Linked DNA regions of Homo sapiens: region 1 is linked to region 2. The links are contacts of gene promoters, found by promoter capture Hi-C in human tissues and cell types (Jung and others, 2019). All regions are on one chromosome and are shown on one strand. Each heading gives the region's core, a stretch centred on a gene start or on the middle of the fragment in contact. The rest is flanking DNA. Distances are from core to core; before and after follow the strand shown.

Region 1 (7,092 bases), core at 863-3,362, 73 kb after region 2:
GTAATAATTAGGAGCTATACAGTTCATGACAAAAATATTACAAATTTCAGATCACAGCACATACTCCTATAAACATTTAAAAGTTAATTTCAATTAAAAGAGTGGTAATTTTTAATGTTTGATATGACCAGCATTCCTAGGTCAGCGCAACCAAATGATGGAAAACAACTGGATCACACTGCATATGTCCCACAAAAGAAAGCACAATGTACAAAATGTGCATGTTTCAGTTTACACAAAATACATTCCAGGTAAATATGTTACATTAAGAAATAGTACTAGTAAGAAATTGGCACTCAAAGAAAAAATGCAAAAGTATTTTCAACGTGAAAACACAGGACAGTGGAATTGGAAACTTTCGGATAAAACATTGTAACCCAGTTAGCTCTATTTGCTGGGTGGGGATGAGCCCTCAACATTTCTGCAGATAACTTTTTTCCCCCTAAATTCATCTAAATTACCTATCATTATCCCAAACAGGCACTTCAAACTATTAAACTAAAACACAAATCTTAGTCTAGTTATGACTATTCTTCAAGAACTCATGTGAGTATCTTTAGAAAGAAATTTTCATTTTTGACAGACAGCTATCAGTAGTATGCTGTTCAATTGCTCAACGCAGAATTCATGCTATCCAGTATTAACACAGAAGTTATTAAATATAAATTCAGCCTTAAAGTAACTGCTTTGTTCTAAAAAAAATTACTACATAATTATCAAGATATCATGACTTTTTAACAAATGGAAATCTTCAGATAGTTTTTGTGTCTAAAGAAATATCCCCTAAATGTATATACACTGAAGAAATAATGGTTGGATTAAAAAAAAAATCACTGGAATACAAATGAGATGAACTTGTGCAAACTGTAACTTAACATGCCCCACAAAGTTTCCATATATATATTAGGACAAAATTATGCAATGGTGGCAACAGTTTTGATAACCTATAAAAGTTAGGTTCTAAATTCCTAGGCAGTGTGACTCAGTTAAAATAGAGCCTAGAATGCCTAAGTGGAAATATTCACTCAAATCATACAATATATGTCTGCTCTATTCTTCCACAAACATGTTAATGCCTAAGACTATGTAATTTAGCACTTTTTGGAAAAACTTCAACAAGGATTTTTATCTTTAAGGCTGTAATAATTAGATAACATTTCTTTCTAGAATTCTCCCACTTTAAAAATCGCTACAATAACAAACCTTTTGTTAAACCATTCAAAGTTCACATAATAAAAGGTAATTATCATTACCTTAAAAAATGTCCATCTACATAAAAAATTCAAGAGGCCTAAATATCCCCTCATAAGCTCTGCAGTTCCTGAAGTATAACCATTTCTTTCTCTGTGTAGAAACAAGAGGTACTGTATAACACCCTACCTAAACAATGTTCCACAGATCTGTAGTTTAGCATAGTATTTCAGAAATCATACTGATTTTTACATAGAAGTTTCATTGTCTATGAACTAGTTCAGGCGCCTGTTTATTTGCATCCAGATAAAACTATTTTAGAAGTAAATATTTAATTTTTAAGTCTATTTTAATTACTTATGCAGAGAAAACTGGAATACTACACATTTGGGAATTTTGTGAGTATCTGACATATACCTTAATGGGTACAGTAATTGGCCCAACAGAATCATATAGTTATGCCAAATAAAACACAATATAATCAAGTTTATTCCTTTAAAATAATGAAGTGATTTACATAAAGTAGCTAGATCAAAGAGTTGCACTGGAATCACAGCAAAACAATTATAGAACTGGAAGAAACCTTAGAGACCAAACCCCTTCTTTGCAAAACTAAAATACACGTTGTGTTATCTCTGGGTCATATGCCGAAGGCCTTACTAAGATATTACAGACCATGCTAGCACTACCTAAGGACTGGGATTATGCCTCTTGTTTGGGGATACCATATACCCAGTGCCTTAGGCAGTGACTGGCATCTGGTAGGCACTCAGTATATATTTACTGAGTAAATGAGTTCTGCAAAACAGTAAGCTTTATGGGGCCGAGGCGGGCGAATCACTTGAGGTCAGGAATTTGAGACCAGCCTGGCCAATAGGGTGAAACCCTGTCTCTACTAAAAATACAAAAATTAGCTGAGCATGGTGGCACACGCCTGTAATCCCAGCTACTCGGGAGGCTGAGGCATGAGAATCGCTTGAACCTGGGAGATGGAGGTTACAGTGAGACAGTAAGACAAGATGGCGCCACTGCATTCCAGCCTGGGTGACAGAGTGAGACTCTGACCCCGCCTAAAAACAAACAAACAAACAAAACCAGTAAGCTTTATGAATTAAAGTATTTTTCATTGTAAGAAGATTTCTGGTTATTAAAACATTGGAATGTATTACTGTTACCAGGGGTAGTCCTAATTGTAGATTACCTAAGAAATTCTTTCAGCAGTATCGTTATTAAAATCTCCTTCCACTGGATAGGGTTCTGTCTGTTCATACCAGGTTTGAAAATTCCTACTATCACTAATGAATTGGGCAGCAAAGAGGTGTTCAAAGAATCAGCCACCACCTGAAAATTAGCTATTAGGTCAAATCCCATTATGATATCTGTCAGATTCTTTTGAGACCTGAGGAAATAAGATGTAAGGGATTTTGATGTGACTTAATGGGAAACCTTCATGGAGATATCCACAGCAGCAGTAAATCTTATGGTTAGGGGAATTAGAAGTATTAAAATTACATCAAATCATGGGGCATGTGGAAGGCAGGCAGGCAAGATGACACTAATACAGAAGGAGAGTCCTAAAACGAGAATGGATATTCAAATATAAACTTTACCTCTTGCACAATTTTGCCCAAGATTGTCACTGTCACTGAAGATGGTAACATAGGTTAAAAAGTTACAGATTGTGCTGAGCTTGACAAATAAGTGTATCCTATGTAAACGGAATATAAATTATATAGTTGTAAAAAAGCAATGAGTTTGAGATGACTTCTTTTAACATGAAGAAATGGATAGTAAGTGATTTCCTCAAAATCAGAGTCCTAAAAGACACATATCTAGAACCTAAGTCACCTTCCTTCTAGTCCAGTGATATTTTCACCTCACCACACCATCTCACTTCATATATTTTAAAATAAGTAACATTTTAAGTGTATTAATAGGATTATTTTATTAATATTTATTTTTAAAGCATTAATCTTAAATATGCATCAGACTTGAAAAGTGTTTATGAAATGTTAATTTAACCCGTGTTAAGAGAACTAGCCAAACCTAGAGATTTTAAAGCTTTTTCACTTCATTGTTTAAAAAAATTAATGTCTTTGCACACCACCACCCCAAAATCTCAACTTTTGAGTTAATATTTAAAAGTAATTTTTAAAAAAGATTTTGTTTTCTTAAAAACAAAAGCGATGCTCTTGATTTGTCAGCAGGACTGCCACAGAGTGAGAATGTATTTGTTGAGCTTTCCAAACTGTCCTAATCCCTCCCCATTTTGACCAACCAATGCATGACAACGCTGGATGACCATGGGGACACAGTCCATGCTGTGAAACTCTCTATGAAAGCTCAAAGGTTCACACAGGGCCTGGCCTTGCAAACTTGGTCTCTTCAACACTTACTAAGCTATGACTGGCCCAAATAATCTTTAATAACACAAGCAGAATTAAAACTATCTTCAAAGACTGAAGTTGAATAAAAGATTTAAAGTTATACTACGAAAGAGAAATCTGACACAGGGAGACTACATTTAATTCCTGTGAGAATGTTTTATACCTGTTAAAATTCTTTCAATTATTATAAAAATTTAGTACCATGTAAATATAGCCCGAAAATGGTTGCTATAATTCCCATTTCATACTGGGTCTCCCTTAACCGAAAAAACTATTAGGAGTTCTTATAATAATTTATCTAATGTGAAAAGGAAATGGCCTTATAATAGTTTCCATTGCCTTGTAATTTTTTTCCATTTTTTTATAGAAAAAATATAATATTTTTGAGAGAGTGACCGTGACTAGTAGCAGTGGAAAGTGGGGCAAAACCTTTGTGAACAGTGTAACTTTACATTCACCGGGGATGACAAACTACAGGACATGATGCCTAGAAGAAGAATCATCAGAAATCCCATAAATTTGTGTTCCCTCAATGTTTCAGTAAAACCAATTATAAAGCCTCAACTGAAATTATAATTAGTAATTAATCCATTTATGTGACTAGATAAAACACAGAATAGGGATGATTCACAAGCTTCATTAATTTGTTTCTCACCGATGTTCACAACTGGTAAGAAAAATAAGAAGTAATCAACTGCATGCACCAAAAACCCCAAGACAGAAATCAAAGGTATTCAGTTTCTTTTTCACAGGCATTGCTAGTTTGAAAACCAAAACTCTGGTAATACTGGCACTTAGGGGAAAAAAGTTTGCACTGTCATTTTAAAATAAGCATTTAAGGTAAAAGCTAACAGTTTGCATGGAGCAGGAAAAAAATTAGGTAATGCTAAAACAATGCTAATAGTTTAGTGTAATGTATAAAAATTACCAGTTTTACTTAAGTATGCCTTAAGAAAAAAGTACTAATTGTATTTACATAATTACACACTTTGTCATTGACTTTTCTTCTTCTTACCATCTTTGCTCATCTTTTATTTCTCAAACTAATGTATAGAAGGCATCATTAACACCCTGTCTTTGCTGGTTTCAATAAAGGGAATTCCCTAACTCCTTGCTAAGTCCTGAGCCTTTTGTGTCTACTGTTCTAGAAGGCAAATCACATTTATTTCCTACTAGGACCATAGGCACATCTTCAGAGTCCTTAAATCTTTTAATTTGTTTTCTATAATTGTGCATATCTTCAAATGATTTAATATTATTTATGGCAAATACACAAAGAAAGCCCCCCCCCCCCCCCCGCCCAGTCCTCATGTACTGGTCCTCATTGCATTGTACTCTTCTTGACCTGTTGTGTCAAGAATATCCAAGAGACAGGTTTCTCCATCAATTACTACTTGCTTCCTGTAGGAATTCTCTATTGTTGGATCATATTGGTCCACAAAATGATTCTGAATTAGCTGTATCGTCAAGACACTTTTGCTTACGCCACCAGCTCCAACTACCGCAAGTTTATATTCAGTCATTTTCAGCAGGTCTGGGAGCCGCTGAGCCTCTGGCCCTGCCGCCGCCTTCAGTGCCTGCGCCACGGAGCTCCCAGTCCGAAATGGCGGAGGCCGGGAGTACTGGCCCAGCTTCATCTAAACCAGTATTTGTCTTATATACTTTACGTGAATATGCTTATTCTCAAGGTAAGGCAGTCAAAGCTCATTCCATTCCTTAGGAATTTATGATGCAGGATAATGTCAAACACTAAAGATTCATTTTATTTCAAAGAACCAGCAAATTTCAGTAGATCTTAATGTTACACAATGCACTAAATAGTAGACCATGCTTCTCCCTGGAGTCATTGTTTTCTAAATTGCAATGTAGTACCTAAAAAGCATTGCAAATAAGAATGACATTGTGAATCTTATTGAAAGTTTTAGGTCAGTTTTGTCATAATGCATTCTTCATCATCTGTCAGGTTGTTGGCATGTGAAAGGTCTCCAGAGGAAAAAGAATATGCTGCTAGAAATAGTCTCCAGTTTTCTCTTCAAATAACAACTTGGGTCAAAATCATCCTTACTAGGTCACTGTTAAACAATATTTCTGATATGTTTGACATGTTACTGTGCATTACATCAAATCAAATTTTGATCATGCTTTATAAAATTCCTGACATGTCTAATGCTATTGTATTCTCGTAGTGAGTATTTAAATGTGGCAATAAATAATGTCCCGGACCTATTTCTAATAATTTTAGTTTGCTTTAAATCTTTATCTGCTAAAATTTTTTCTCTAGATCTTGAAATTACTCCACAATTTACTAGTGACTATGATAAGTCACTTAAATACCTCATCTTTTTTATTTATTTATTTATTATGTTTTTTGAGATGGAGTCTCACTCTGTCGCCCAGGCTGGAGTGCAGTGGCGCGATCTCGGCTCATGGCAACATTCGCCTCCCAGGTTCAAGCAATTCTCCTGCCTTAGCCTTCCAAGTAGCTGGGATTACAGGAGCCCCCTGCCACGTCCGGCTAATTTTTGTATTTTTAGTAGAGGCAGGGTTTCACCATGTTGGCCAGGCTGGTCTCAACTCCTGATCTCAAATGTTCCACCCACCGTGGCCTCCCAAAGTGCTGGGATTACAGGCATGAGCCACCATGCCCGGCCAACAGCTTCCTCATCTTTAAAATGAGATACAGTAGTACCTGTATTATAGGGTTATTATGAGGATTAATTTAGTAAGTGTAAGGGTTTATGACAGTATTATTGTTGAAATATGAGGTCAAAATAAATTTGTTTCCCTGAGTAGGATGAAATGCTCCTTTAAGAGGAATCATTTAAATTTCTTACATACTTTTATTTGCACATTGCAGCAAAATACGTGCATGTTAAACTACCAGCATAACTTAATTCATGAACGCATGTATATACCTGAGGATCTTCATGGCCCCAGGAACACATTAAACTTTTCTGATACAATTTTTCTTTACTTAGAGTTTGTTTTCTTCTTCACATATTGCTTTTCATTTGTTTACATTGTACTTTCATCTATATAATATGCATTAAAAATGTAAAGATGTTTGCTTTTTCAAGTAGTCAAGTTCAACAAAGTTTTTATCATATGAAAAATTAATAGGTAAGCACTCAAACATTGATGAATAAAGATACTAAACAACAGTAGCTATAGGCAGATCACCCACCCACTACCCTCTGTTTCCAAACAGAAATAATCAACCCTTCCTCTAATTTCATGTTCTTTCTCTCAGTGGTGGAGTGTTCTAGATTGTATCAGTCTAGCTTGTTATTTTGATTTCCATCTGGAACTGGATCAGTCCTTACTCAAGCCCAGATAGATGACATCATAGAAATAAATTGTATTAGTCTGACATAATTGTTCTCTATGCAATCTTCACATTTATGGGGGAAAAGGTTAGTTTTCATTAGTGTACTAATCCAAGGCTTGCTCTCTTCCTCTATTGTAAAAAGCAGTAAATTGATACACTGTTAGTGATAGCTGTCATATGACTTAC
Region 2 (7,161 bases), core at 1,804-4,303:
TGGACCAGTAATCTACAAATTATTTAAGACACAGCTGAAAAGATAAATGTCATGTGCCCTTAGGGGACTTCTCACCCCACTCTTAAGGACAATGTAAAAATAAAACAAAAGACAAACTGGGTAGTAATTAGATGTCCCCAGAGGAAAAGTTTCCTACCGTTCATGATCATGTGATTCCAGGACTTCCCAACATAGACAGCATGCCCAATGAATATCTCTCATATTTGGATCATCTCTCCACCAAGGCTCACCTTCCTTACAGCATCACAGCCCCTGAAAACATCCTTTGCCCCCTCCATCACCCACCCCTACCTTCTGTACATGTTAGCCCCCTGCCTCCTTAGTGCACCCTCCTCCCCAGCATACAGCCCACTTGCCCCCCACTCCACCTCACCTCCACGTATATCCTTTCCACTGGAGCCTACCATTTCCCCCAGCTCTTGTCTCAGGAGCCCACAGCACTCAGCCTCCCAATCCCCTTGGGAAGCCTGCTCTACCCTTAGGGGCCAGGATACTTCTAGACAGTGCCCATGCCCATTGGCACACCTCAGTGGGAAGGAAGCTCCCACTGAAGGCTCTAACACATTTTCTCAGAGAAATGTTGTTGGCTTTGATTCTTGATGGAGTTTAAGTGCTATTTGTACAACTTTTTATCTACGGCATCCTTAAAGCTGGGCTGTGAATAACCATCATTTAGAACTCTGTTTCCATGGGGGAGCGGATGTATTCTGATGTTCAGATGATAAATTCAACAACAAAATTCTAAAATACATTCCATCTCCAGATCAGAAATTAAAGGAACAAAAGCACATTTCAAAATGAACAAAACATTGTGTTTAAAAAGGTGAATTGTGAAACATCCATGGGACATTCACATTTTGCAACTTATAAAGGGACAGACGTGCAAACTTACCTAACTAGATAAACAAGGACAACTTGAAATTTTACCAATAATTCATTAAATTAAGCTAAGTGGCCTCTTTTCAAAAGGTCTCCTCCAACCAGATTTATGTATTAGAAGAGTCCCGCTTTGATGGGATAACAGTTTCACCCCAAGATTCTGGACACTTAAAAGTATAATAACATTACATTTTGGCAACTCAGTATTGTATAATGTAATTAAATGGGAAACAAGTAGGTTAGTTGCTGCAAGGTGAGTCATGGTCAAGAAAATACTCAGTGAATGAACCTCCACCTTAACCTATAAAGAACGGTGGACGGTAGAGGAAATAAAATAGAAAGATTAATAAAATTAATTACTTCATCCCAAAAAAGTTTAGCCAGTTAGCGTCATAAACTCAAGGGCATAAACGTAAAAGACATCACTGAGTCAGCACCAGAGGTGTGGTTTGTCTCCATCTATACAATCTCTTTCAGCAACTGTTCAACTGGTAATGCTTCCCACAATAAATTCTCAGCATCTGCGGTCTAAAGCCTGCCAGCTTTAAAGGCAGGATCCACCCAGCCCCTTAGGCAGGCTCTAGAGGGTGTAGCCAGCACCCTAAATAGGTGTATACCCCACGTGTGCCTGAGCCCCAAAGGCAAGGGGGTGGAATTTGCAATTGGAAGGTGTGGGGACTTCTACTTTTCTGGGAACTATAGGAAGACAGAGAGAAACAAACGCAACAAAGACCTGCACTCCCAACCTTCCATCATTCTGTTTCACATTATTCTCATTCTCCAATCATTTTGAGCCTCCCACCGCCACCCCCACCCCCACTCCAATAAAAAACAAAAAACCCCAGTTTTCTCTTCTAAGTCTCTTTCATCACTCTCTCCCTTCCTGTTGCTTGTCAGCAATGATTCAGCCTCAGTCATGGATTTCCTCGGGGCTCTTGCACTTGTTAGGATGAGAAAGGGAAAGAAGGGAGGTGCCTGCCAGTAACCTAGCAAGATGTTTGTAACTGGGAATTTGGACATAAGCTGTTGAGCATTAAATTCTAGCCTCAATTGCTTGCCACCCGCACACCTTCTTCTTAAGTGTTCTGGCCGCCTGAGCTCTCATTTCCACTTCTAGGTCAGAGAGACCCTATAACTTCACCGCTCCGAGCATAGACAACATGCTAACCTGTGTTTCCATAACCTCCCAGCCTCCTCCTATAAAGAAAGCGCTGTTGTCTCTTTACATACCTATGACTCCTGCAATGAACACAGGCATTCTCTGCCTGTCCATTAACCTTACACAGGTAAGTCTCCCCACATATCACACAGAATAGGCCAAAAGTCTCCAAGTCCCGTTCCAGGAGCAATCTGCTCTAGGCCTACTCTCCTCTTCTAGATCACTCACCAGGATCTAGAGCAGTGGTTCTCAAACTTTGGTAGGTACAGGCTCTCCTGGAGAGCTGCTAGGGCACACAGACCCAGACTCAGGCCGACCCAAGTATGAAAAACACAGGTCGCTACCAGTCTGCACTCAGAAACGGGATCCTGTACAATTAAGAGGTTGTGTGAAAAAACTGTCTTTTCAAGTTCTGCTCCCCACTCAGGATCTAAAGAACACCCACGCCCCTCAGCGACCTAAGCTCTCCCACCTTTTCCCGGAACCCCCCACCCCCATGCCCTCTGCTTCCACCCTGGACTTCCTCCCACGAGACTTTTCCCAGCGGTCTCTCCTCCCGCTTCCCCTCCCGGGGTCCTCGGCGCACTCCTACACTGGAAAAGAGGAAACAAATGCAGCCTCCACGAGGGGCGGCGCCAGTCCTCTGGGGACCCAAACCGACTCCGCCCGAGACAACTTTTCAAACTTCTCAACTCACTCGAACCCCCACGACAATGAAAGAAACGTAGAAAAGACTGAAGCAACTGAGCTTTACACCCTGTGGAATTTCCAATCCCGCCTGCGCTCCCAAGGGAGAGTCCCCTATCCCTCCCGTCCGCCGCGCCGGCCAGGGGCGGGTGAAGCCCCGGGCCCCCCCAGTACCCCAAGCACCTCAACCCTGCACCCGCTGGGGTCCCGTCCGCCGAGGTCCGGGGCAAGGGAGCCCAAACCCCACTTACTTGCCCCAAGCCGCGCGCAACCGCGCCCGCCGCACAGCGCCGGCCGCCGAAGGTTTGCCTCCCAGGAAGCAGCAAGCGCCTGGGCGCGGGCAGGGAGGGGAGGGGAGTTACCTGCCCAGCGTCAGGTCCGCGGAGGGAGGCTGATTCCGGCTCGAACCGCGCCTCCCCGAGACAAGGTGCAGCGCTGGAGGGGGCGGGAGTGGAGACGGGTTACAACAAGTCCCAAGTGGTGGCACGCCAAACCCCGAACAGCCAGAAAGCGCTCGGAACCTGTCTGAACTCAAACACCCTGCTCTCTCCCAGCGGAGTATGAAAAAGCCTTTCTTTCCTGCCCGCCCTCGGGGCTACGGGGCAATTACAAGTCCCGACACCCTGCTCCTGGTCTGGGGCGAGGAGCGATCCCGGAGGACAGCGACGCTCACCTGGGAAGAAGGCGGATCTAGGCCGAGCGGGGCCGTGGTCCCGTCCTCGCTTTTCCCTGGGCTCAAGAATGCCTGGAGGAGAGGCCTGGGGGCCGCGGGTGAGAGCAAGGGTTGTAGCACCTTCGAGAGTGTGGGGCGGATTCAGCCCACAGTAGGTAATTCCAGTGGGCATCCCGCAGTGCAGACTCCTTCTCAGTGCCTAAGAGTCTTTAGGCTTGGAGAGGACGTGGGGAGTGGAAAAGTAGAAGAAAAAGTGCTTGTGCCTTTACTTTTTTATGTAAAAGAATTTCAAATATCATCAAAGATTTTGGTACTGACTCTCAACTGTCCTAGTTACAGATTTGGGATGAAAGGATATTGTTTAAAATAGGGAGATGTGCGTGAAAGCAGGTCCCTCTAGGTGGGATACTGCGGAGCAATGTTACGGAAGTGGAGACACTATAATTTAAACATAAAATACAGTAATTAATAAAATTTATTTTTTAATTTCCTTGCCTACACCTCAGTAAATCTGTCATGAGTATTTATAATAATTTGTGTAATCACGTAGACTTCAAGATAAAGTCATTTGCAGCAAATGTCTAAAATGCAGCCTAGTACTGTAAGAATGGAATTTAGGGTAGTAATAGGCATATTTTAAGCGTCTGGCATAATATATAAATTATCATAAAATTGAATTGACCCTTAAAAATGACTTTCGTGGCGATTTTGCTCCAAATAAAACAGTTGAGGAAAATGCTAAGCCATTAAGGTTTGGATGAATCCCTGACTGACGTGCTGATTTAAACTGAAGAATGAAATTCGCATTAGTCTAGATACTGAAACATCAGAGCAAAGGCCAAAGACAGGAAAGTAAAAGCAAATTCCAGGATTAGTACAAAGCTAATCTTCCAGATCTTGGTGTCTGGTTTGTAGTTTCATTTCTTCAAAAGAATGTAGAGAATTGTCTTGTTTTATGTATTTATTTTTTCCTTCTGTTCCTAATTTTCACATCTCACTTTTTAATATTTTTTCAGTTCTCTTCCTCATTTTTGGCATGCAATCCATTGACTAAATTAATATTCTCTATGTGGTACTTAATATACTGGCGTGTTTCTACAGCCTTTGAGAATAATTCTGAATGTCTCTTAAAGGTGCAATACTTATGAACGTTTTGAGATGCACTTATCCTATTGTTAAAAATATCAAGAATATTTGGAGTTAAATGAGGCCCATAGGAAGTCTAATTTTATTAAGATATGCACTCATGCTAAGTCAAGTGAAATCACAAAGAAAGAAGGATATATCTACTCGAGTGTTCATTATTAAAAGCAAACAAAAGATCAGAAAATAGACGTGGAGAGGGAGAATCTATTAAAGGTATTATGCTATGTAAGACCTTTCCATCCTTAATGGGATGGAAAAATAGATAAAATTGATCTCACCCCTTAAGGAGCCTAGAAGGTGGGTGAGGAATGTGGACAGAATTTCACAGAACTATTAGAATTTGAGTTGGGTCCCGACTGATGAGCAAACTTGTCAGGAGAATGAAATTGACATGTGATTAGATGCTGAAAGAGCAGAGTAAAGGCTAAAAGCAAGTTCCAGAACCACGCAAATCAATTACCTGATTTGGCCATGGGCATCACATGGTTGTGAGTGGTGGAAGATACATTTAGACATAAAGTTTGGAGTAATTTTCTCACAGAATGAGATCAAAATTATTTATAATCTAAGATTGTTGTGAGAATTATAAATTAGATATGGTATGTGGAAAACATCCCAGCTCTTGATCTGTGGTAAGCCCGTAAGTGCATTACTATTAATTATACTGGGAATCAGATTGGGAAGAACTCTGATTGCAAGCTGAAAAATATGGACTTGTGTCTCTTGCTGGTGATATGTTGACTAATCTAACAGTTGGTGACTTTGGTATAAATTCTAGGGAGTCAGGAAGAGTAGTTATGCCTAGCTGTCATGTGAATAGTATGACAAGGGAAGGAATAGTGAAAATGAAAAGGAGGAAACCGATTTGAGAGCCAATGAAATAGAAAATCAATATGATTTGCATCAGATAGAATGGATGTAGAATTGAAAGTGAAAGAAATAACTAGGTTTTCTTTTCTTTCTTTCCTTTTTTTGAAACAGGATCTTGCTCTGCCCCCTAGGCTGGAGTGTAGTGTCTCAACTCACTGCAACATCCAACTTTTCAGCTCAAGCAACTCTCCCACCTCAGCCTCCCTAGTAGCTGGGATTACAGGTGCATACCACCAAACCCAGCTAATTTTTGTATTTTTTTTAATAGAGACAGGGTTTCACCATGTTGCCCAAGTTATAACCTAAGTGTTTTCAAGCTGCCAAAAGTCATCAGTAGAGGGAAAGAAAGAAATAAAATGGCCATGTATGTGAAAAGTAGGAAGAGGCAGGAGCAGGATCATGTGAAAGGTTGTTTTCAAGTTGTTGGGAATCTTTCTGTAAATGTGTTGGAAAGGAAATAGCAGAGAATAGAAAGAATAATGGGTAATGAACAAGGTCCAGATGATATGGGAAGGGAGATATAAAACCTCAGTCTCTCCATATGATAAGTATGCCTAATAAATTCTCAACTGTATTATTTTTTAAATGGATAGGTTATATTTAAGACAGAAACTAAAACTAGACTTTTACAGTTAATACTTTAAAAGTAGCTAACAGGATGGATGGGAAGATTACACTAATGGCTCACACCTGTAATCCCAGCACTTTGGGAGGCCGTGGCAGGATCACGAGGTCAGGTGATTGAGACCATCCTGGCTAATATAGTGAAACCTCATCTGTACTAAAAATACAAAAATTAGCTGGGTGTGGTGGTGCACACCTGTAATCCCAGCTACTTGGGGGGCTGAGGCAAGAGAATCACTTGAACCCGGGAGGTGGAGATTGCAGTGAGCTCAGACCGTGCCACTGCACTCCAGCCTGGAGACAGAGCGAGATTCCGTCTTTAAGAAAAAAAAAAAAAAAAAAGGCTTTTAAAAACTACAAGTCAACTCAATCTTCATTTGCATCTTTACCCTCATTCTATAATATTTAATCTAAAGTCTAAACAAATCAGTGGAAATACGAAGTTACACTTAACAGGCATGTATTTGCCTCCCATATTGAGTTCAAATATACAAGGGGGTTCAAAAGCAATCAGGTATTTTTTCCTGCCCTCAAAGTACTTATAATTCTTTTTTTTTTTTTTTTTTTTTTGTTGAGGGGGAGTCTCACTGTTGCCCAGGTTGGAGTGCAGTGGCACGGTCTCAGCTCACTGCAACCTCCGCCTCCCGGGTTCAAGTGATTCTTCTGCCTCAGCCTCCTGAGTAGCTGGGACTACAGGCATGCACCACCACGCCTGGCTAATTTTTATATTTTTAGTAGCGACAGGATTTCACCATATTGGCTCGGATGGTCTCAAACTCCTGACCTTGTGATCCACCCGCCTCAGCCTCCCAAAGTGCTTGGATTACAGGTATGAGCCACCATGCCCGGCCAGTACTTACAATTTAATTGATAAGATAAAATATATGTGAAGTACAATAATCCAGAAAATAATATATATACACATAAATATAGATAACAATGAAACAGACAGGAGTTATAGAAGAGAAGAAGCAACTAATTTTATTGGGAAAGAAGGAAATCATACTCTGAATGACATGTTTCTTTTCAATTGTTGATTTGTTTTTAACAAAGATGTTCTTCAAAAATCCTTAGAAGTATGATAAGTATGAGAAGTATGTGA

Evidence for each region. The method cuts DNA at HindIII sites, captures the fragments that hold promoters and counts their contacts. A contact is called where the count stands out against the background at its distance.
Region 1: a fragment that was not itself captured here is called in contact with the fragment with the promoter of FAM83B in region 2 in 2 of the 25 tissues and cell types used here (dorsolateral prefrontal cortex and psoas muscle).

The regions. Positions count from the first base shown.
Region 1 is chr6:54,768,592-54,775,683 of GRCh38, reverse strand. The region is part of intron 1 of LOC107986606 (a long non-coding RNA gene); the gene reads left to right. It also overlaps the pseudogene KRASP1. Among named protein-coding and RNA genes, the nearest start is that of FAM83B, 75 kb to the left of the region's middle. The HindIII fragment of the contact is 3,241 bases long and covers 492-3,732 here.
Region 2 is chr6:54,842,663-54,849,823 of GRCh38, reverse strand. FAM83B (family with sequence similarity 83 member B) reads right to left here and starts at 3,053. Exons shown (of 5, transcript NM_001010872.3): 1 at 2,998-3,053. The HindIII fragment of the contact is 13,561 bases long and covers 1-7,161 here.